Linked DNA regions of Homo sapiens: all the other regions are linked to region 6. The links are contacts of gene promoters, found by promoter capture Hi-C in blood cells and fetal thymus (Javierre and others, 2016). All regions are on one chromosome and are shown on one strand. Each heading gives the region's core, a stretch centred on a gene start or on the middle of the fragment in contact. The rest is flanking DNA. Distances are from core to core; before and after follow the strand shown. Region 1 has its middle 7.9 kb from the start of LORICRIN. Region 2 has its middle 24 kb from the start of PGLYRP3. Region 3 has its middle 14 kb from the start of PRR9. Region 4 has its middle 6.2 kb from the start of PRR9. Region 5 has its middle 3.9 kb from the start of LCE3E. Region 6 holds the start of IVL (involucrin). Region 7 has its middle 9.7 kb from the start of LORICRIN.

Evidence for each region. Contacts are between HindIII fragments. The CHiCAGO score rates a contact against its expected background, and 5 or more counts as called.
Region 1: a fragment that was not itself captured here is called in contact with the fragment with the promoter of IVL in region 6 in 3 of 17 cell types (endothelial precursors, M2 macrophages and erythroblasts); the score reaches 6.1 in endothelial precursors.
Region 2: a fragment that was not itself captured here is called in contact with the fragment with the promoter of IVL in region 6 in 4 of 17 cell types (M1 macrophages, M2 macrophages, M0 macrophages and 1 more); the score reaches 9.3 in M1 macrophages.
Region 3: a fragment that was not itself captured here is called in contact with the fragment with the promoter of IVL in region 6 in 7 of 17 cell types (endothelial precursors, megakaryocytes, erythroblasts and 4 more); the score reaches 10.4 in endothelial precursors.
Region 4: a contact is called between a fragment that was not itself captured here and the fragment with the promoter of IVL in region 6, in 7 of 17 cell types (M2 macrophages, M1 macrophages, M0 macrophages and 4 more). The highest score is 10.3, in M2 macrophages.
Region 5: a fragment that was not itself captured here is called in contact with the fragment with the promoter of IVL in region 6 in 1 of 17 cell types (naive CD4 T cells); the score reaches 5.4 in naive CD4 T cells.
Region 7: a contact is called between a fragment that was not itself captured here and the fragment with the promoter of IVL in region 6, in 1 of 17 cell types (M2 macrophages). The highest score is 7.2, in M2 macrophages.

The regions. Positions count from the first base shown.
Region 1 is chr1:153,250,476-153,253,175 of GRCh38, reverse strand. No RefSeq gene overlaps it. Among named protein-coding and RNA genes, the nearest start is that of LORICRIN, 7.9 kb to the left of the region's middle. The HindIII fragment of the contact is 3,465 bases long and covers 1-2,700 here.
Region 2 is chr1:153,287,444-153,290,143 of GRCh38, reverse strand. No RefSeq gene overlaps it. Among named protein-coding and RNA genes, the nearest start is that of PGLYRP3, 24 kb to the left of the region's middle. The HindIII fragment of the contact is 786 bases long and covers 949-1,734 here.
Region 3 is chr1:153,230,623-153,233,435 of GRCh38, reverse strand. No RefSeq gene overlaps it. Among named protein-coding and RNA genes, the nearest start is that of PRR9, 14 kb to the right of the region's middle. The HindIII fragment of the contact is 3,185 bases long and covers 1-2,813 here.
Region 4 is chr1:153,210,059-153,212,758 of GRCh38, reverse strand. No RefSeq gene overlaps it. Among named protein-coding and RNA genes, the nearest start is that of PRR9, 6.2 kb to the left of the region's middle. The HindIII fragment of the contact is 524 bases long and covers 1,177-1,700 here.
Region 5 is chr1:152,569,282-152,571,981 of GRCh38, reverse strand. No RefSeq gene overlaps it. Among named protein-coding and RNA genes, the nearest start is that of LCE3E, 3.9 kb to the right of the region's middle. The HindIII fragment of the contact is 545 bases long and covers 995-1,539 here.
Region 6 is chr1:152,907,223-152,909,922 of GRCh38, reverse strand. It overlaps IVL (involucrin), which reads right to left and starts at 1,377. Exons shown (of 2, transcript NM_005547.4): 1 at 1,334-1,377; 2 at 1-144. The coding sequence starts at 125. RefSeq lists silencers at 137-1,337, 1,710-1,762, promoters at 1,383-1,617, 1,337-2,276, 137-2,700, enhancers at 1,497-1,776, 2,695-2,700, 2,610-2,700 and a cis regulatory region at 1,531-2,027. The HindIII fragment of the contact is 6,184 bases long and covers 1-2,700 here.
Region 7 is chr1:153,268,072-153,270,771 of GRCh38, reverse strand. No RefSeq gene overlaps it. Among named protein-coding and RNA genes, the nearest start is that of LORICRIN, 9.7 kb to the right of the region's middle. The HindIII fragment of the contact is 3,713 bases long and covers 1-2,700 here.

The sequences.
Region 1 (2,700 bases), core at 194-2,693, 340 kb before region 6:
TAATTTTTGCTCATTCTTCAAATTATACTCCTTATTTCAATAGCTGAACCTGTTGAAATCAGGTGGATGACTTGGGGCAAACTTTCCTAATGCTTAAAAAAGTGACATCATGGCTTGGTGGGTGGGTCTCCAGTGACCTCTTTGTCTGGTTCCATCCATGTGCTCAGAGAATCCCAAGAGGTGGGACTGTGGAACCATGATTTACATCTGGCACAGATTCCTTGGGCCTTCTCTTCTGGGCTAAGAGTATCCCTGGCAATATGGATCTCCCTAACTCTCCATATCCCCATGTAACTCAGGGCTGGACCTCAGAGTAAATATTTGTAAATATGTTGATCAGTCAAAGAGATGATGAGAATTTAATCTCATAGAGGAGGGAAAATATAATCTGATTTTGTTTTCTATGAAAGTATCTTAAATAAATTTGCTATGGCAAACTGCTGGGAGCTAGGAAGTTTGTTAGCTTCTGGTCTGTTCTGAAGGGTAGGGATCAAGGTCTTTCCTCTGCTGAGGTCTTGGGGTCTTGTCAGCGGGGCAATGCTCTAAACCTGCCTGGCCACCAACACCTTGTGAGCTTGGGCAAGGTCTTGTCCCTCAGATCTCAGTTTCTCCATCTATGAAGTTAATGTAATCCACTCCCATCTTAGTAGATATTTTTTATGCCTCCTTCCCATGGCTCTTCTCTGGATAGAGAGGAAGGAGAGATGAGGATGGTCAGAGGCAGTGACAGGGAAGAAGCTAGGTGGGTTGACAAGGATCACAGGCCAATGGGAAAAGAGCATAAAAATGTCATACCTCCCTGTATGCCAGCCTTAGGCTCAAATCAATGGAATTTTGGGAATTTTTCTCCCAGAGAGCATTTCCCACCTGAGCTGAGTATGCAGGAAAAGGGAGGGTGCAGCAGGAGGGCAGGGTGAGGAAAGTAATCTTGCCTTAAGAATAACCTCTGCGAGTGTCATCACCCAGGGTGCGTATAATTGCACAGGATTAAGAAAGGCATGTGGGCAGGCTGCGTTGCTTTAGATCCTCCTGCAATTAGTGTATGCCACTTCAGATCCCAGAGGAAGGATTAATTTGTGTGACGTGTGTTCATATGTCTACAGGTGTGCATGTGTGCCTGCAGCAGGGAATCCCCTGGTGGTGGAGCTGGCCCCTTATCCTTAGTAAATCATTCTGCTACAAAAATTAAAACCAAAAAAAGAAAAAAAAATTTGCTACAAATTTGAAAAGCAAAGCCAAAAAAAAAAAAGTCACCTATAATTCCATCATCCAAATACAGCTGGTAAGTTGTAGTATTTCAAATGTTGTTGAGTATTTTAATCTTGTTCTTGTGTTTTTTCTCTTAATTTATACTTCCTCTTTCTACAAACTCTCAATTTTGGCTGCTGACTCTCCATATGGCAGTGTCATCATGCACAGACCTGGACCCCCATGTCACGCCATGGACTCCATGACTACTAGCTTTAATGGCTGGTCTCCGTGGCCCACTCCCATTCTTACCATGTACACCTTCCAGCTGTCCTGTGTCCACTGTACCCTTGAGAACGCTCTCTTGAATTTCTCCAGATCTTGGTTGTCTCCCTGGTAGGCTGCTGGAAGGGACCTTATCTTTCTTTGTATACACAGTGTTGGCTGCATAGTAGGTGAGGAGAAAGGTTTGTGTGGTGAAATACCCTCTTTTATCTCAAACCTTTACTTCTTGGCCCCCCAACTTCCTTGTGTATAAGCCTTGGTTCCCCCAGACTCTGTCTAGATCCACAGAATCATTGATTTTCCCCAAAATGCGGTTTCCATCTTGTCTTTTTAAAGCTCTCTTCTCTTCACAGGCTTCTGAACCAGGATTCCCCTGGGCATGTGTGGTCTGAAGTGGCCCCTTTTGGTATGTGTGTGAGAGGGCATGAGGAAGGGGAAGAGGGAAGCAGACAGCTTAGTGGTGGCATGTGGAAAATAAGTCATTCTGTAATAGAATGCTTGAGAGAAGTGCTAGCCCATTGCCGGGGGGATGAGGGGATGCAGAGAAGAGAAGCAACTGGAAAAGTCTTCTGGAAAGAGTGAGTTTTGAGATAGGATTGGAAAACAGTAAAAATTGTTGACAGAGGTTTTTCCAGATTCGGACTTTGACTTTCATGTTGCTTTCATGTGTATGAGTGTAAATGTGTGCATATGGTGCAGTGTGTGCACATCTCTGTGCATATATGTGTACATATATCTATGGGTATGGGTGTAGACGTTTCTGTGTGTGGTGTGCGTACATGTCTGTCATATGTATGATCTCTGTACATGTCAATATGTGTATATGTGATGTACATGTACATGCCTGTGTGATGAGCATACACGTCTGTCTGCATGTGTTATGTGTGTACACATGCCTTTGTATGTGGTATGTACATATATCTGTTATGTGTGCACATATGTCTGTCATATGTGTGATCTGTGTACATGTCAATCTGTGTATATGTGATGCACATACATGTGCCTGTGTGTGATGAGTGTACACATCTGTGTGTGCATGTGTTGTGCGTACACATGTCTCTTGGTATGGCATGCACATATAGCTGTATGTTATGTGTGTACATATGTGTGATATGTGTACAAATGTCTACATACACATGTGTAATATGTGTGCACTGTATGTGTGTGATGTGTGTACATATTCCTATGTGTGTCTGTGTGTCTCAGACCTCCACTGTCTTTAATCTC
Region 2 (2,700 bases), core at 92-2,591, 380 kb before region 6:
TCTTATGGATCCCAAATCTGGAATTTTCATTATTGACTTTCCCTGAAAGGCAAGAATATCCCTTAACTTCATTCCTACTTGCCTTTCTTCTCTTAGTCTTTTTACACACATGTGATGAGGTTCATATTTCAGGGGTGCATTTTATGGTATTGTGGCCAAGTGACCATGAGCTGGCCCTTAGCCCTCCAAGTGAACTTTGGGCACACCACCCTAATACTGAACCAGGCATGTTGGTAACAGTGTGGTGTTCATATAGTAAGCCAAGGGTGACACGTGGAAGGACTCTTATGCTTGATTAGTGCTGTGGAGTCTGCATGGAGCTTCATGATGCATAGCCTTCTGGTGTTTAAGGAAGTTAAAGGTGTGTTGCTGTTTAAAAGCACAGGGAGTCTTGGTTTAGATGCTAGTTTCAATGAAGCCAAGGATACTTGATCAACCTTCTTGGTTTGCTATTCTGTCAAATTTGGGCAACAGTGAAATTCTCTGGGTTGCTATCTAAAGGAAAGAGAGGAAGAACTCACAATATTATGAAGTTGAAGGATAAAATACATATGTTCAAACCGACTAAAGTAAGAGCAAGCAATATTGCCTTCCCTTAGGAGGGCTTTCATTTAGAGATGAGGGGGATGAGGGAGGGATGGACCCACCAGACAACAGATATGTGCCTCACGGGCTCTTCTCCTCATGAGGTGAGTCGGAGCCCCAGAGCTCCGGAGCCCCATTGTTGACAGGGCCTTCTGTTCATAGGCTGTGGACATCAGGGCCTTCTCACATACTGTTTCCTCTGTCTAGAATGTTTCTCCCACCTTCATTTCTTTTTCTGGCCAATTTATATTCAACCTTCAGTTTCCAGTCTTAAGGTCATGTCTTCAGAGAGGAGCCCTCCTTCTGCCAGCCATAAATTCATTCATAAACTTTTCCCTTTCCAACGTTGCGCCATTTAAAGCTTATCTTTAATTCTGTGGCTATTTATTTTATATCTGTCTTCCTCACTGGCCTGTTCCATTTATGAGGGCAGGACCTCCCCAGTGCGTCCCTAGCTCCTGAGTGATGCCAGATACACCAGCACGTAATGGTAGCCCCATAAATATTTGTGGAATGAACGAATAGCTTCAGTATCTTCTTTTGTAAAACTGGGGTTGCAACTGGTGACCTGGGCCTTTTCCAGGTCTGAAATGCTTTGGAGTCTAAGAGTCCTAGTGTGGGCCCTAAGTCCCAGCGGCTGTTGGTGTGGAAGCGGGGTTTAGGGAATAGCAGCAGAAGGGCGCTGGAGTCCTGCCCTGCCTCGCCAGTAGGTGGTGCAGGTGAGCTGGCTCCATGGTCAGGGCTGGGGCTGGGCCAGCCCTGGTGGGTGTGGAGTGGGAGCGCCCTTAGCTGAGCCATTGCCCAGACCTGCCTAATGAGGAGGCAGGGCACCCAGCAGGTACAGGCACAGAAAGGGAGGGAGAATGGCTGGAGATACAAACCTGCTGGGACAGTTGCTTGCTACACGGGTGGGGGGTGGGGGTGGTTGGCATCCTGGTACGTCTGGCCACAAAACTGCTCTTGGCACATCAGGGGCCAGAGTGGTGAGGCTGTCTGTCCCAAGAGTTGGAGGTCAGAGGAACTAAGCCTCCCCTGCCTCCAGGCTGGGGCCCCAGCACTGCCTTGGGACTAGTCTCCTACCTGTCTAGTCTCCTGCTAGCACTGTCCTCATGTATATTCATGCCCACGTTTTACCTCTTTCCCCAAGCTTCCTTCCCAACCCCCTACCACTCAGCAGAGAAAATTGAGGCCATCTGGCAGGATCTCTGTCCACTTCTTGCAACCTTGCAAATGTTCTTGCAACCACATTCCCAAAGCTTCCTTGACATCAGCTTCAGAGGGTCAACTTTTCACTCCTTCCTTCCATCCCATCCTGTTCACATTCCTTGAGCTCTCTTTTTAAACTCATCACTTTTACCTCCTAAATTTATATTTACAGTGGAAACTTTTTTTTTTTTTTTGAGACAGAGTCTCTCTCTGTCTCCCAGGCTGGAGTGCAGTGGTGCGATCTTAGCTCACTGCAACCTCCGTCTCCCGGGTTCAAGCGATTCTCCTGCCTCAGCCTCCTGAATAGCTGGGATTACAGGTGCCCACCACCACGCCTGGCTAATTTTTGTATTTTTAGTACAGATGGGGTTTCACATTGTTGATCAGGCTGGTCTCTTATCTCCTGACCTCAGGTGATCTGCCCACCTCGGCCTCCCAAAGTGCTGCAATTATAGGCGTGAGCCACTGCACCCGACCACATTTTTCTTTAATACAGGTTCAAATTCTGCCATGTATTTATCTCTCAATGTGTGTGTGTCATAGAACATCTAATTCATGCCCAAAGCCAAACTCTTGATCTTGCCTCAAAAGCTCTCCTACCACAGTCTTCCTCACCTCAGTAAATGGCACTTCCACTCTCAGGCCTGGTATTGTGGCCAACTGACCCTGAGCCTGCCCTTAGCTCTCCAAGTGAACTTTGGGCACACCACCCTAATACTGAACCAGGCATGTTGGTAACAGTGTGGTGTTCATATAGTAAGCCAAGGGTGAGATGTGGAAGGACTCTTATGCTTGATTCATGCTATGGAGCCTGCATGGAGCTTCATGATCTGTAGCCAAATGACAAAAACCTTGGGTCACCACTGACTTCTTCTTTCCTCCCATTCTCCTCATCTGGCTGGCTCTGCC
Region 3 (2,813 bases), core at 3-2,502, 320 kb before region 6:
GAGGGGAGTGGCTTTGTCTATTATTTTCTGCATATCTAGTAGCTGGCTCCATAGCAGGCATAGAAGGCTCCCATTAAATGCTTATCAAATGAATGAATAGATGAATGGACACAGCATGCCAGTTTGATGAACGATCCTCACATTTGTATTTGACTGCCAACATTCTTTGTGCCAGGGATTTGCCACTAGCCTGTAGTATGGAGCTGGAGACTGGGCTTTCCTTTCTTGGGACCTTGAACTTGGGTGCTCTGAGTGGGTTCCCCTCTTGTGTCACATATGTATGACATACTTCAGGGTCCCTGTTGAGACCTGCTTAGAACCACTGGATGTCATAGGTGGAAGAAGCCATAAAGAGCATCTAGTGCAATCCCATTCTTTCACAGATAAGGGGGCTGAAAAGACCTCATATCCCCAGCTCTTGTACCTAGCCAAGAGCTGCGATCCAGAGGGCAGTCAGATGGACTGATGGTTTGATTTCATGTGAGCTGAAACAGAGTGACTCTTTAATGCTCTTTGAGGCCGTGGGTGGAAGTGCTGCTTTGCTTTGCAACATCTAGGGCTATGGGCACTGAGGTAGATTTGTCACCTGGAGATTCTAGTAGAAGTAATGACAATTACCAACTGGTACTTCTTGCTGCCTCACGTCCTGCCCCTCCTCATGGCCTGTCACAAACACCTTGCACAACTGTCCTTGTCCTCCAAATGCACATGGGGCAACTCTTTCCATGAGTCAGCTCCACTAAGCTGTGTCATTACTCAGGCTGTGTGGCCTCAGGAATGTCACCTGGGGTCTGCAGGATTGGAGTGGGGCAGGGAGCTGGAGCATGGTTCCCTGGTGAGGCTTTGCCTGGGCCGTGTGAACAGGGACAGGCCACATTCTGAGGAGCCTGGCTCTACGCCAGTTCTTGACCCCTGCTCTGCCTCTGAATCTAAAATTCTCATATTTGAAACTGGGTCAAGGTAAACGTGGGTGATGTGTTGGTGGTAGATATGATGATATAAAGACTGGAGTGTCAGAGTCGATGTTTTAACTCCAGCCTGGGTTAGACTTCAGGTGAGTACTCAACATATGACTGGAGAAACACACTTGTCATATTTTGATCAGGGCTCTTTAAAGGTGAGTAAGTTGGATGTGATTTTCATTTTGTATTTTGTACTATATCTTTAAAAAATCCAAGTCCGGAGAGGGTGAGGACAGAGATGCGTACGATGGAGACCCTCACACTTTGTGGGGACATTAGCACTGGGGATCTTCTGAGGCCAGGGACCTTTTCTTTCTCCTCAAACTGGGGATAACCTTAAGGCCAGGACTGTGTCTCTCCACTGCATTCCCTCTGCAGGCTCCAGAGGGTGGGGCTGTCTTCTTCCTCATCCCGGGGTCTCCCTGAGGTTTGCTATGTCCTGTCTTCACACTGGGGCTTCCCTGGCAGCAAGGGCTTCCTCCAACACCGGATGAAGTCTAGGAACACTTAGGCCTCAAATTGAGGAACCTGTGATGGACAAAAATAGTAGCATGCATTACAAAAGGGCAGAATTGTCATTTTCCTTCTGCCTCTGTGGCCAGCATGGCAGGCATTTGGCAAAGGGCAAGGGGAGGCATGGTTCCAGCATCTGGAATCATCACACTGACTTTGTGTATGTATGTGTGTGCGTGTGTGTGTGTGGTATATGGTGTGAGAGAGTGCAGTGTGTGAACCTCATGCAGGTGAGTCTCTGGGGGGTGACGGGGAAGAGGTGCTCCCTCTTCTAGGAGGACATGGTAGGGGCAGAGAAGCAGGCATGGGCTGAGTAAACCCATGCAAAGTCTGATTAGGGCTTAAAGTGTGTTTGCCATCTGGGCCTGACTCAGCCTCTGGTGTCAAAGGTTCAGGCGAGGTTGCTTTGTGAACAGGGTGGAGTAGTCCGGGTCCACTTGTGGAAACTCTATAAATGGAAGCCTGGGCTTCGGTGTTGGCTTCCCTCCTGGTTTGGGGAAGTGCTGCTCAGTCCTGCCTCCTCCCACTCACCTTCCCACACCTGGACACCTGCAGCCAGGCATCTTTCATGAAGGCCTCTTCTGTCCTAGAGTAGGTCTGAGCTGGGATTTTCTTTGAGCAGCAAACCAATCCAGCTGCATCCAGGAACCCCACAGACTGCCCTGCTTGGTACCTCCCTTTGCTCCTCAGTCCACTCTGTTCTGTTCTGGCCTCTGTGTCCCCACTCAGGCTGTCCTCATCAAGGTCACCAGCCACTCTGCATTTCTTGACCAGTTAGTATTGGTTGACTCCATTGATTTTCCTTCCTTTCTTGGACACCTGTCTTCTCTTGTCTTTCCAGTCTCCACCCTCCTAGTTTCTCTTCCTTCACTGACCGCTCTTTGTCAGCTGGCTGTACAGGCTCCTTCTGCGCTGTCCAACCTTGAGATCTTGTGGAGTCCTCAGCTCGGTAGGGCCCTCTCTTCTTCTCCTTGGGTGATCTCAGCCACTCACATATCTTTAAATACCTTCTATGTGATGACAGCTCTCAAATATGTACATTTTTGGCCCAGATATCTCTGAGCTTCAGACATGTACCCACATATCTCCTAGTCCTCACCTCTCTGCATCCACCTAGTGGCCTAAGCCATAAACTTGGGAGTATTTCTGCCTTCTTTCTCCTCCTTTACCCCACACATTGAGTCCCCCTGCTACTCCTGTTAGTTATTCCTCCAAAACACTTAGCGTCACCCTCTTGTCTTTGTCTCCACTGCTGCCATCTACCACCTTTAGCCATAACTCTAGTAGCAGGTCCTTCCTCTCCCTATTTCATGCTTCCTCCAACATCCAGCCTTTATA
Region 4 (2,700 bases), core at 189-2,688, 300 kb before region 6:
TTGGAGTTAATCTGATTTAATGACATCTGAGATTTAAGATTTTAGACTTTTGGAGCTGTCATTATTGGGAGCCAGGGCATAATTAGACAGGATCAGCAGAAGAGTCTCAGGTGTGTGCAAGACAGTTTTTTTTTCTCCCATTCCCATCAAATAACTATCTCCTCTGTTCAGATCTTAAAAGTCCTCAGACTCCTCTGACCCATTCATCTGCATATTACAGGGCAATGTCTCTGATAGAGCTGAATGGTGCAGAATTTGGTTTCCTGCAGAGCGGGTGCCCCTGGGCAGCTTGCGAATTCCTGGGAGGAAGTCCACCACTCCTCTCCCTTCCTTTCCTCCTGTGTCACCCACACAGGGGGTCTGAATCAGAGGTGTGAATTCAGGAAAGAGCTGTAAATCACAAGCCCTCAGGGCCAGACGGGACTTGAGAGGCCACCTGATTCTATCTCCTTGTTTTAGCCCCAGCACGTGCTTTAAACAGGAGACACAGAACTATTTATTGACTGCGTTTTTTAGATGAGGAAACTGAGGCACAAAAGTGTCAAAGATCTTGTTCAAGATTACGTGGTCAGCTCATGTCTGGTCTGGGCAATGGTCCACATAAAAAACACTTAGCTATTGTCAATAATGCCGCAATAAACATACGTGTGCATGTGTCTTTATAGCAGCATGATTTATAGTCCTTTGGGTATATACCCAGTAATGGAACCAACCCAAATGTCCAACAATGATAGACTGGATTAAGAAAATGTGGCACATATACACCATGGAATGCTATGCAGCCATAAAAAATGATGAGTTCATGTCCTTTGTAGGGACATGGATGAAATTGGAAATCATCATTCTCAGTAAACTATCGCAAGAACAAAAAACCAAACACCGCATATTCTCACTCATAGGTGGGAATTGAACAATGAGATCACATGGACACAGGAAGGGGAATATCACACTCTGGGGACTGTTGTGGGGTGGGGGGAGGGGGGAGGGATAGCATCGGGAGATATACCTAATGCTAGATGACGAGTTAGTGGGTGCAGCGCACCAGCATGGCACATGTATACATATGTAACTAACCTGCACAATGTGCACATGTACCCTAAAACTTAAAGTATAATAATTAAAAAACAAAAACAAAAACACTTAGCAGACCAGTGTATTGGGGATTCCTTATAAGCTTTGGGAAGACAACAAAGACACAGACCAGCCAGTGGCTGTTCACAGTTTGGGATCACAGGAAATACTCACATGTACATGCCGTCATCTATAGGGTGTTCAGGGACTTCAGGTCAAAGATCACCAACACAGATGGTGGGGAGGAAGGATGTTCCCCAGTTACTTAAATTTGTTGTAGATCTTCAACTTTTTCCCTTTTGAGTTTGATTTCTGGCGAACCTTGGCCTAAATCAGGATTAGAAATCCTGGATGCTTTCTACAACCGACACGCTGTGACTTTGGTTGTTCCCCTCTCTGGACCTTCGCTTCCTCATGTAGACACTGAGGATATTTTAAATGCCACGTTCAGCTCTGATATTCGGCAATATGAGCATCTCCTTCTGGCTCCTACTGTGGGCCCAACCTGGGAATGGGGTGGTGAGGTGGCCCCTAACTCTACTTGCCTTCAGAGATATTTGTCATCCTTTTGTGGAACTCCCTGTTTCTCCCTCAAATGCACTGCTTCTCACAACAGATAGCAGGAAGCTTTTGCTGCAGTAGGTGATGAGTTGTGACTCCGAGTGTGTACATAGATACTAGAGTACTGTTGGCATCTTGGCTTCCTAAGTTCAGTTGCCCACACTAGGGGCTTGATATAAGTTATCTGACTTCATCACCCCACCTTGCCCCTTGGTGAGACTTTTCTTCTCATTCCTCAGGTGAAGAGCTCCCTTCTCCCACTGAGGCGAAGCATTTTGCCCGGCTCCACAGCTGGCTGGTGCAGTGCTTGCTTGGAGCCCATGTCTGTAGGATGCCAAGCCCTTTCCCTTTCCTTGCTGCTGCCCGAGGTGAGGGACCCACATGGAGGTAGACTGCATCTTCCTGGCAAGGCATTAGGAGGGCTGGCAGGATCTGTATCTTGTGGCTGAAGGGGAAAGTGGCCAAGGACAAGACTGCAACAAGGGCCAGGGCTGCCTTTCAGCCCCAGGCCATTCATGCTGAGTCCCCTTCCCCTCTCCCCGCTGTCGCATTCTGGGGATAACTCCATGCCACGAGATTAAGGAGCACAGTGGACAGGGGCTCAGTCCAGAGCAATCCTCTCTTGTTTGGGAAAGTGGCTCTGCAGCCTCTGAGCATCCAATCATTGGTTATTACTGCATGTCAGCGATGCATGCCCGGCTGCCCCTTCTCAAAGGGCAGGCTGGTGGGAGAGTCAGGTTACGAACACGTGGCCAGAATGTGAAGTGATAAGGGGAGGAAGGCATGGAAGCTCTGAGACCACAGAGTGGGGCATCTAACCAGTTTGGGGGTGGGATGTGGGGAAGATTTTTGGAGCAGGTGACCCCTGAGTTGACTTAAAGGATGAGGATTTGCCCAGGAGGATCATTCAGAGGAAGATTCAGTGGAGGCAGAGCAAATGATAGAGAAGGGGGTGTAAAGTCACAAAGGCCAGAGACTCTGTGTTGTGTGCCAGGAAATGCCAGCAGTTACCTGTTACTGGGCTGTAAAGTTCTAGAAGGAGATGGAGAAATGGCCTTATGGCTAGAG
Region 5 (2,700 bases), core at 18-2,517, 340 kb after region 6:
TAAATGACTGATTTCTTTAAGGAACCTTTAGCACAGTGACCTGATGTGAAAAATTTGGCCTCTTTTGACACTCCCCTGCACTCTTAGCCCCATTGGTACAGGCCTCTTGCCTTGATAGCCACATTCCCAGCAGGACTGTGGCAGTACAGCTATGCCTAGCTGCCCTCCAAACTGTCCACTGGCTCAGGGAAACTCATGAACTCTGGCCATGTCAAGCAGTAAGGGACTGGCTGCTTCTCTTTTCCCCATTCTCCTTTCCATTTTCCCTTTCCAATTATTTTTCACTCTCCAGAATAGCCAGAGAACTGTTCAGCAAGTCCAATGATGACACTGAGACCTGAAATTTTAGTCTTCCTGGGTTTTGCGTGTGTGTGTGTGTGTGTGTGTGTGTTTTATTGTTTTGTTTTGTTTTGTTTTGAGATGGAATCTTGCTCTGCCGCCCAGGCTGGAGTGCAGTGGCACAATCTCAGCTCACTGCAAACTCCGTCTCCCTGGTTCAAGCGATTCTCCTGCCTCAGCCTCCTGGGTAGTTGGGATTACAGGCACCAGCCAACACACCCAGCTATTTTTGTATTTTTAGTATAGATGGGGTTTCACCACGTTGGCAAGGCTGGTCTTGAACTCCTGACCTCAAGTGATCCACCCACCTTCACCTCCCAAAGTGTTGAGATTACAAGCATGAGCCACCGCTACTGGCCAAGTCTTTCTGTTTTTTAGGCATTGATAAGTTCTACAATTTGTCCCCTTGAAATTTCTATGACTTTTCCTCTAGTGGAGGGTAAGAGTAATAACCTGTTGCTTCCCCATGTGAAATGTAAGGGGAAAATCCACAGCATTCTATCCAGTTTTGAAAACTTCTCATTACTATAACAAGAGAAGAGTGATAGCATCTCAGGGCTCCTTCCAACCTCTTTATAAGGTGGAGAGTTATTTGTGCCTATTGTTTACAAGTTGGCAGTTATTTTTGTCAAATCTCAATAAAACAGGAAAAGCTTAATCTTACTTTCTCATATATGACCTGGATATTATATGGAAGCATCTCTGTGGTGATGAGAAGAGCTGTATATCTCAAAATAATAATGCTTATTGGATGTGAAGTTTGTGACCCAGATGAAAAACTAGGGACTCATGTTTTCACTTAAGAAGACAAGGTTGGGAATGATTGAGCAAGGATCTCCAAAAATCTGCTCTTCCATTAAAAACACCTTGAAAATGAAAAATTGTGAAAATCAACTTTTGCAAAACTCTGGAGATTTACCAAAGGCTTGCAAAAATATTAGAGTGTTCACTTAAGAAAAGCAGTTGAATATGGGTAAGAGCAGTGAGCTTTGTGACATTTTAACTTGCCCTATTATCATCTCCCTGTTCCCAGTGCCATAATAGTCTTGAAATCTAAAATGCTAGTAGCACATGGAGGTAACAGAACATATCTGAAACTATCCAAAAACCCCATCCCTAGAGAAATGTCATTATCTGACTATATGGCACATAATGAAGATCCCATTCCCATTTCCCCTAGAAATCCCAACTAGCCAAGCTTGTTTTCATTCCAGTTGACTCAGAACTCTCTCACTGAAAACAGCTTTTACCCCAGGGTGTTTGCCAAAAACAATCAGTAAAAAATGTTTAGCATCACAGCTGCCTGTGATGGTGATAATAGTTGGGCAAATCAGAAGTTGACCAAAAACTTAGATGGAAAATCTGAGGAATGAGATTCTCATAGAGAGTTTTAAAAATCTATGACACATTTCTGGAAATCTAGGAGACTATGTGGACTTACAGGGTGTGTGCATGTACAGAAAAGACCTGGGAAGACCCTAATATCTCAACTTTGACTGATCTTGAAGTTCCATCCAAGCAGGAAATGAAACCTAAGACAGATTTGTAAACTGTCTTCTGAAGTCTTGAAAACATGCCCCAACATACACACAGAGGTCCTCAGCAAAGGTTGAAAGACATTAACTCAAGGCATTTAAGGAAATCTCTGTCTACTAAGCTAACTGAGTACAGAGTTAAATGACTACACACAATAAAGAATACAGATTTTACAAAATTGGTTCAGGAAAGTCATGAAGCAAATGGACAGTGAAAACAAACAGCAACAAACCCCAGAGAGGGTTGGGAAATTTGATTTCCAGGATTTTATATCATTTTAAATGTCCAATTATTAACCAAAAAAGAAAGAAAGCTACAAATAAACAAGAAAGTATGACCTACACAAGGGGCAAAGTCCAGGGAGGTAGTCAAGAGAGACTGTCCCTGAAGAAGTTTAAACATTGGTTTTACTAGACAAAGATAAAAATCAACTATTTTAAATGTGCTTAAAGTACTAAAATAAACTACGTCTTAAGAATTAAAAGAAAACATAAGAATGTTGTCTTGCCAAATAGAGAATAACAACAAAGAATTAAAAAGAATTTCTTAAAACAACCAAATAGAAATTTGAGGCTTGACAAATATAATAACTGAAATTTAAAATTGACTAGAAGGGCTCAACAGCAGGTTTGAACTAGAAGAACAAATCAGTGAACTTGAAGATAGGTCAATTGTGATTATCCAACCCGAGGAACAGAAAGAAATAAGATTGAATAAAAATTAACAGAGCCTTCAGAGGCCTGTGAGTAACCATCAAGCCCACCAACATGTTTATAATAAGAATCCCAGGAGGAGATGAGAGAAATAAAAAGACAGGAAGAATAT
Region 6 (2,700 bases), core at 128-2,627:
GGAGGCAGTGGAGTTGGCTGTTTCATTTGCTCCTGATGGGTATTGACTGGAGGAGGAACAGTCTTGAGGAGCTCCTGACTGAGGGCAGGGGAGAGGGTCACTGGCAGTGTGTGTTGCTGGGACATCTTAGAAGCTACTGTCAACCTGAAAGACAGAAGAGGTCTGATGCACAGGCTGAAGGCAAAGGAAATAGATGAAACCTTGGGAATCTGCAGAAGTATCTGGTTTTTTAGCATCCCCTCTTCCCTTGGGCAGGGTACTGTTCTACCACCTCTGGACTATCATTTCCCAAAAGCAGCAGAGAGAGAAGGGTGGAAATGTGGAGGGGCAGAGAAAGGTCCTCCTAGGAGCCTCCTTGTTCCCAGGTGAGAGCCAACAAGGAGATCTGTCTGCAGGGCTGTTCTGCAAGGGTGGGTCAGGTGCCAGCTCACTGTCTGCTCTTGTCTAGTCCTTGTGTCCACCCTCATCGCTTCACTGACCAAGGAGCAGAGATGCGTTCTGGGATTATGTCACAGTGAGGAGTAAGGCCTTAGGGAATGAAATGTCTCTTGGAGAACACCAAGTCCTAGAAAACCAATAGGCCGTGCCAGAGAGGACCTAAGAGGTCATGGTGTGACCTCCAGACTGGAGCCACAGGACATGCTCTAGGCCTGAATCTCCCATTGGAATGCTGTGTGTTTCTGGGCATGTCACTTAGTCTCCTGGGATTTGGTTTTCCCCCCTGTAAAGCCAGCAGGTTGGCCTATTCAACCCCAGGGCTGCTTTCTCTCCTGACCTTCTGAGGTTTAGCTGCAGTCCTTGTGTCTGGGGTGGGGCTGCGGGAGCTGGAAGGTTGCTGAGAGTTGGAGGTTGTTCTTCCAAGTCTTATACTTCTAAGTTGAGTTTTCCTGTCCCAGCTCTGCCTAGGTTTCTCCAAATAGAAAGGTTTCCCCATTCTGCCATCCCTCTGTGCAGCATAGCCAAAAGGTAGAAGCTCTTCCCTGAACCTCTCCCTCCATAAAGAAGGCAAAATGATGGTCTGTCAAAACCCAAGAGGTTTAGGAAAGAAGTTGAATGCTATTCCCCTCCTCCCTTCCATAATTCTCTCTCACACACAAATCCAAAAATATGGTCACAAGAAAAGATGGGACATAGGATGATTACTCTCTGTTCTGCACTTCTGTGCCAAGGCACTTTTCTCTCAGTACTCTGACTCGAGTCCCCCTAGAATGAAAGTCCAGCTGAATCCAGCCCCAGAGTAATGCCCACCCCCACCCAGGCTGCCCACCCCCACCACATCGTATGCTGTTGGAGGTCCCGAGTCCCAACCCTGGTTCTACCATCCGACACTTACCAGACTCACAGTAAGGCTGAGGCAGAGGCTTTGGTGGAGTGCTGAGCTGAGCAGGAGTCAGGGCACTCTTTATATCATTCTGCAGCCTGGCCTCCCTCCAGGTTGAAGGTGATGGACAGGTTTCACCACTCTAGTTGGTCAACTTCCTCTAACCCCTTCCTGACTCACCACAGGCATCTTAAGCAGCAAACCCTTTAGGGCCCCATTTCCCAGGGACACACAGCTCCTGCCTGGCCAGAGGATTCTGGTAGCTCAACTATTCCTGTGATGCTTTTCTGACCTAGGCACAGGGAGCTGAGTGAGGCATCCTACTGTTTTGTGACCTTAGTCAAACTTCTGCTCTGAATCTCAATTTTTCCACTTTCAAAATGAGTTTGTTCTCATTATTAGGCCAAAAGATTCACTTTCAAGGGCATGAAATGGAAAGTTATGTGTCTTTCGGGGATGTCCAGGCTGGGTTATATGTTTGAAGATAGAGTCACTTCCCATGAAGGGGTGGTATTTCTGGGGTGTTCTCTTGGGCCACAAGCCCTTCCTCTCTCAGAATATATTTTTTAACTCCATCCTATGTGGAAATAAACTCTGTCTTTGGTGGAGGGAGTTTGACTTTAGGCCAAGTAGAGTCAAGTAGAAGGCTTCTAGGAGTCCTCTGCTGCTGCCACTTGCTGCCCAGCCTCTATGCCCGAGGCTGCAGTTAGAGAAGTTCTCAGGAATGCCATGCTCATAAGAACTCCAAAGCACGGCCCACTCTAGGCAAGGAAACAAGATTGAATCTACACAATATAAAAATAAGTATTGCTTTTTATAATGACAAACCAAACTACTTTCTTAAGTACTTTTTTAAATGCATGAAGGTATAAAGATCAGAATCAAATCATCCATTTCCTGTTGTAAATCATACTCTAGAAATAGCTTAAGAAATCTTTCAGAGTGGGGATTTGAGCACATCTCTCCCCCGTGCCAACAGTGCACCAGCACACTTGAAATAACATTCAAACTCACTGCCGTGGTTTAAAAGACCCTGGGTACCTGGCTTCTGCCTTCTTCTGGGGCCCCAATTCATGTCAATCTCTCCCTGAGAGGTATATTCTTACCTCACTGAGGGCCTTCGGTTCCTGAGATGAGCCCAGAGCTCTCCACCTGGGGGCTTGGCACCTGCTCTCCTTCTGCCCACCGGCCCCTCCCCAGGTCTCTGGTTCTTTTATGCCTTTCAGCTTCAGTGTCAATGTTGGGGTCTGTCAGAGATCCTTCTCTGTGTACCATATCTAAAGGATTGGTACTTAATTTCACTTATAACAATCTAGAGTAATTTATTTGCATTTGTTCACTTGCTTATTGTCTATCTTTCCCACTGGAAAATAAGCTAA
Region 7 (2,700 bases), core at 129-2,628, 360 kb before region 6:
CTTTCTCAGACAAACAAAAGCCAGGAGAGTTCATCACCACCAGACCTATATTACAAGAAATGCTAAAGGGAATTCTTTAAGATGAAAGAAAAGGGCACTGGTTAGCAACACAAAAACATAGAAAATATAAAACTCACAGGGTAAAAGTATTATATAGTCAAATTTAAAATGCTTTAATGCTGTAATGGTGATGTGTAAATTCCTTATATCTTTAGTATGAAAGTTAAAAGACTAAGCTATTAAAAATAATAATAGCTACAATAATTTGTTAAGGGATATACAGTACAAAAAGATGTAAATCGTGACATCAAAAATTTAAAATGAAAAATATTAAATTTATGGGGGAGGGGTGAAGTAAAAGCATAAAGTTATTTTTATGTGAACATAGTTGTTATCTGTTTAAAATAACCAGTTATAACTATAAGATGTTTTTGTAACCTCAAGGTAACCCACAAAACAAAAACCTATAGTAGATAAACAAAAGATAAAAGTAATAAATCAATGCAAACCTCTAGAGAAAATCACTTAATTACAAAGGAAGACAGTAAGAGAGGAAGAAAAGAACAAAGGATCTACAATAAAACCAGAAAACAATTAAAAAAATGACAGTCGTCTTTACCTATCAATACTTCCTTGAATGTAAATGGATTAAATTCTCAATCAAAAAACATGTAGTGACCGAATGGATTAAAAAATCAAGATCCATCTATTGCTGCCTATAAGAGACTCATTTCACCTGTAAGAACACACATAGACTGAAAGTGAAGGGATAACAAAAAATATTCTATGCAAATGAAACACAAAAGATGGCAGGAGTAGTTATATTTACATCAGATAAAATAGGCTCTAAGTAAAAAACTGTAAAGCAAGGCAAAGGAGGTCATTGTAGAATGACAAAGGAGTCAATGAATCAAGAGAATATAACAATTGTAAATGTTTATGCAACCAACATTGGAGCACCTAAATATATAAGGCAAATATTAATACACCTGAAAGGAAAGATAGATTATAATACAATAACAGCAGGTGACTTCAATATCCCACTTCTAGTAATGGACAGATAATCTACACAGACAATCAATAAGAAAACATTGTACTTAAACTACATTCTAGACTGAACGAACCTAACAGACATATACAGAACATTCCACCAAATGGTAAAGAATGCACATTCTTCTTAAGCACACACAGAACATTCTACAGGATAGATCATATGTTAGACAACAAGACAAGTCTTAACAAATAAGAAGATTAAAATCATATCAAGCATCTTTTCTGACCTTAATGGTATGAAACAAGGAATCAATAACAAGAAGAATTTTGGAAAATTTACAAATACGTGGAAATTATACAATACCCTGCTGAACAATCAATGCGTCAATGAAAAACTTAAAAGGGAAATTACAAAATATCTTGAGACAAGCAAAAATAGACACACAACATACCCAGACATAAAGGGAACAGCACAAGTATCTCTGAGTGAAGTTTACAGCAATAAATGCCTACATCAAAAAGGAATAAAGGTCCTGAATAAACAACTTAAAATAACATCTCAGGGAACTAGGAAAACAAGAATAAAATAAGTCCAAAGTTAGCAGAAGAATGGAAATAATAAAGATAATAGCAGAAATAAATGCAGTAGAGGAAAAAGAAACAGTGGAAAAGATCAACAAACCTTGAGTTGGTTTTTTGAAAAGATAAAATCAACAAACCTTTAGCTGGACTACTTAGGAAAAAAAGAGAATACTCAAATAAATAGAATCAGAAATGAAAGAGGAGACATTACAACTGATACAAGAGAAATACAAAGGATCGTAAGAGACTACTATGAATAATTATTACATACCAATAAATTGGATAGCCTGGAAGAAATGAACAAATTCCTAGAAATATTCAAGCTATCGAACTGAATCCCAAAGAAATATAAAATCTGAACAGATCAATAACTAGTAGGGAGATTAAATTAGTTATAAAAAGTCTTCCATCAAAGAAAATCCCAGGATCCAATGGCTTCACTGCTCAATTCTACCAAACATTTAAAGAACTAATATCAATCCTTTCCAAGCTCTTCCAAAAATGAAAGACAAGGGAATACTTTCAAACTCATTTTATGAGGCTAGAATTACCCTGAAATCAAAGTCAGATAGAACACTACAAGAAAAGAAAATTAGAACCCAATGTCCCTGATGAACACAGATGTAAAAATCTTCAACAAAGTTATTAGTACACTGAGTTAAAAAGGGCCGAGTGTGGTGGCTCACGCCTGTAATCCCAGCACTTTGGGAGGCCGAGGCGGGTGGATTGCCTGAGGTCAGGAATTCATGACCAGTCTGGCCAACATGGTGAAACCCTGTCTCTATTAAAAATACAAAAAAAAAAAAAAAAAAAAAAAAAAAAAAAAAAAAATTGCAGGGTGTGGTGGCGTGCACCTGTAATCCCAGCTACTAGGGAGGCTGAGGCAGGGGAATTGCTTGAACCAGGGAGGTGGAGGTTGCAGTGAGTCAAGATCACACCACTGCACTCCAGCCTGGGCAACGGAGTGAGATTCCATCTCAAAAAAAAAAAAAAAAAAAAAAAGCACATTGAAAGGATCATTCACTATGATGAAGTGGGACTTGTTTTGTGAATGAAAGGGTGGTTTAAAAATGCAAATCTATAAATGTGATGCACCACATGAACAGAATGAAGGACAAAAACCAT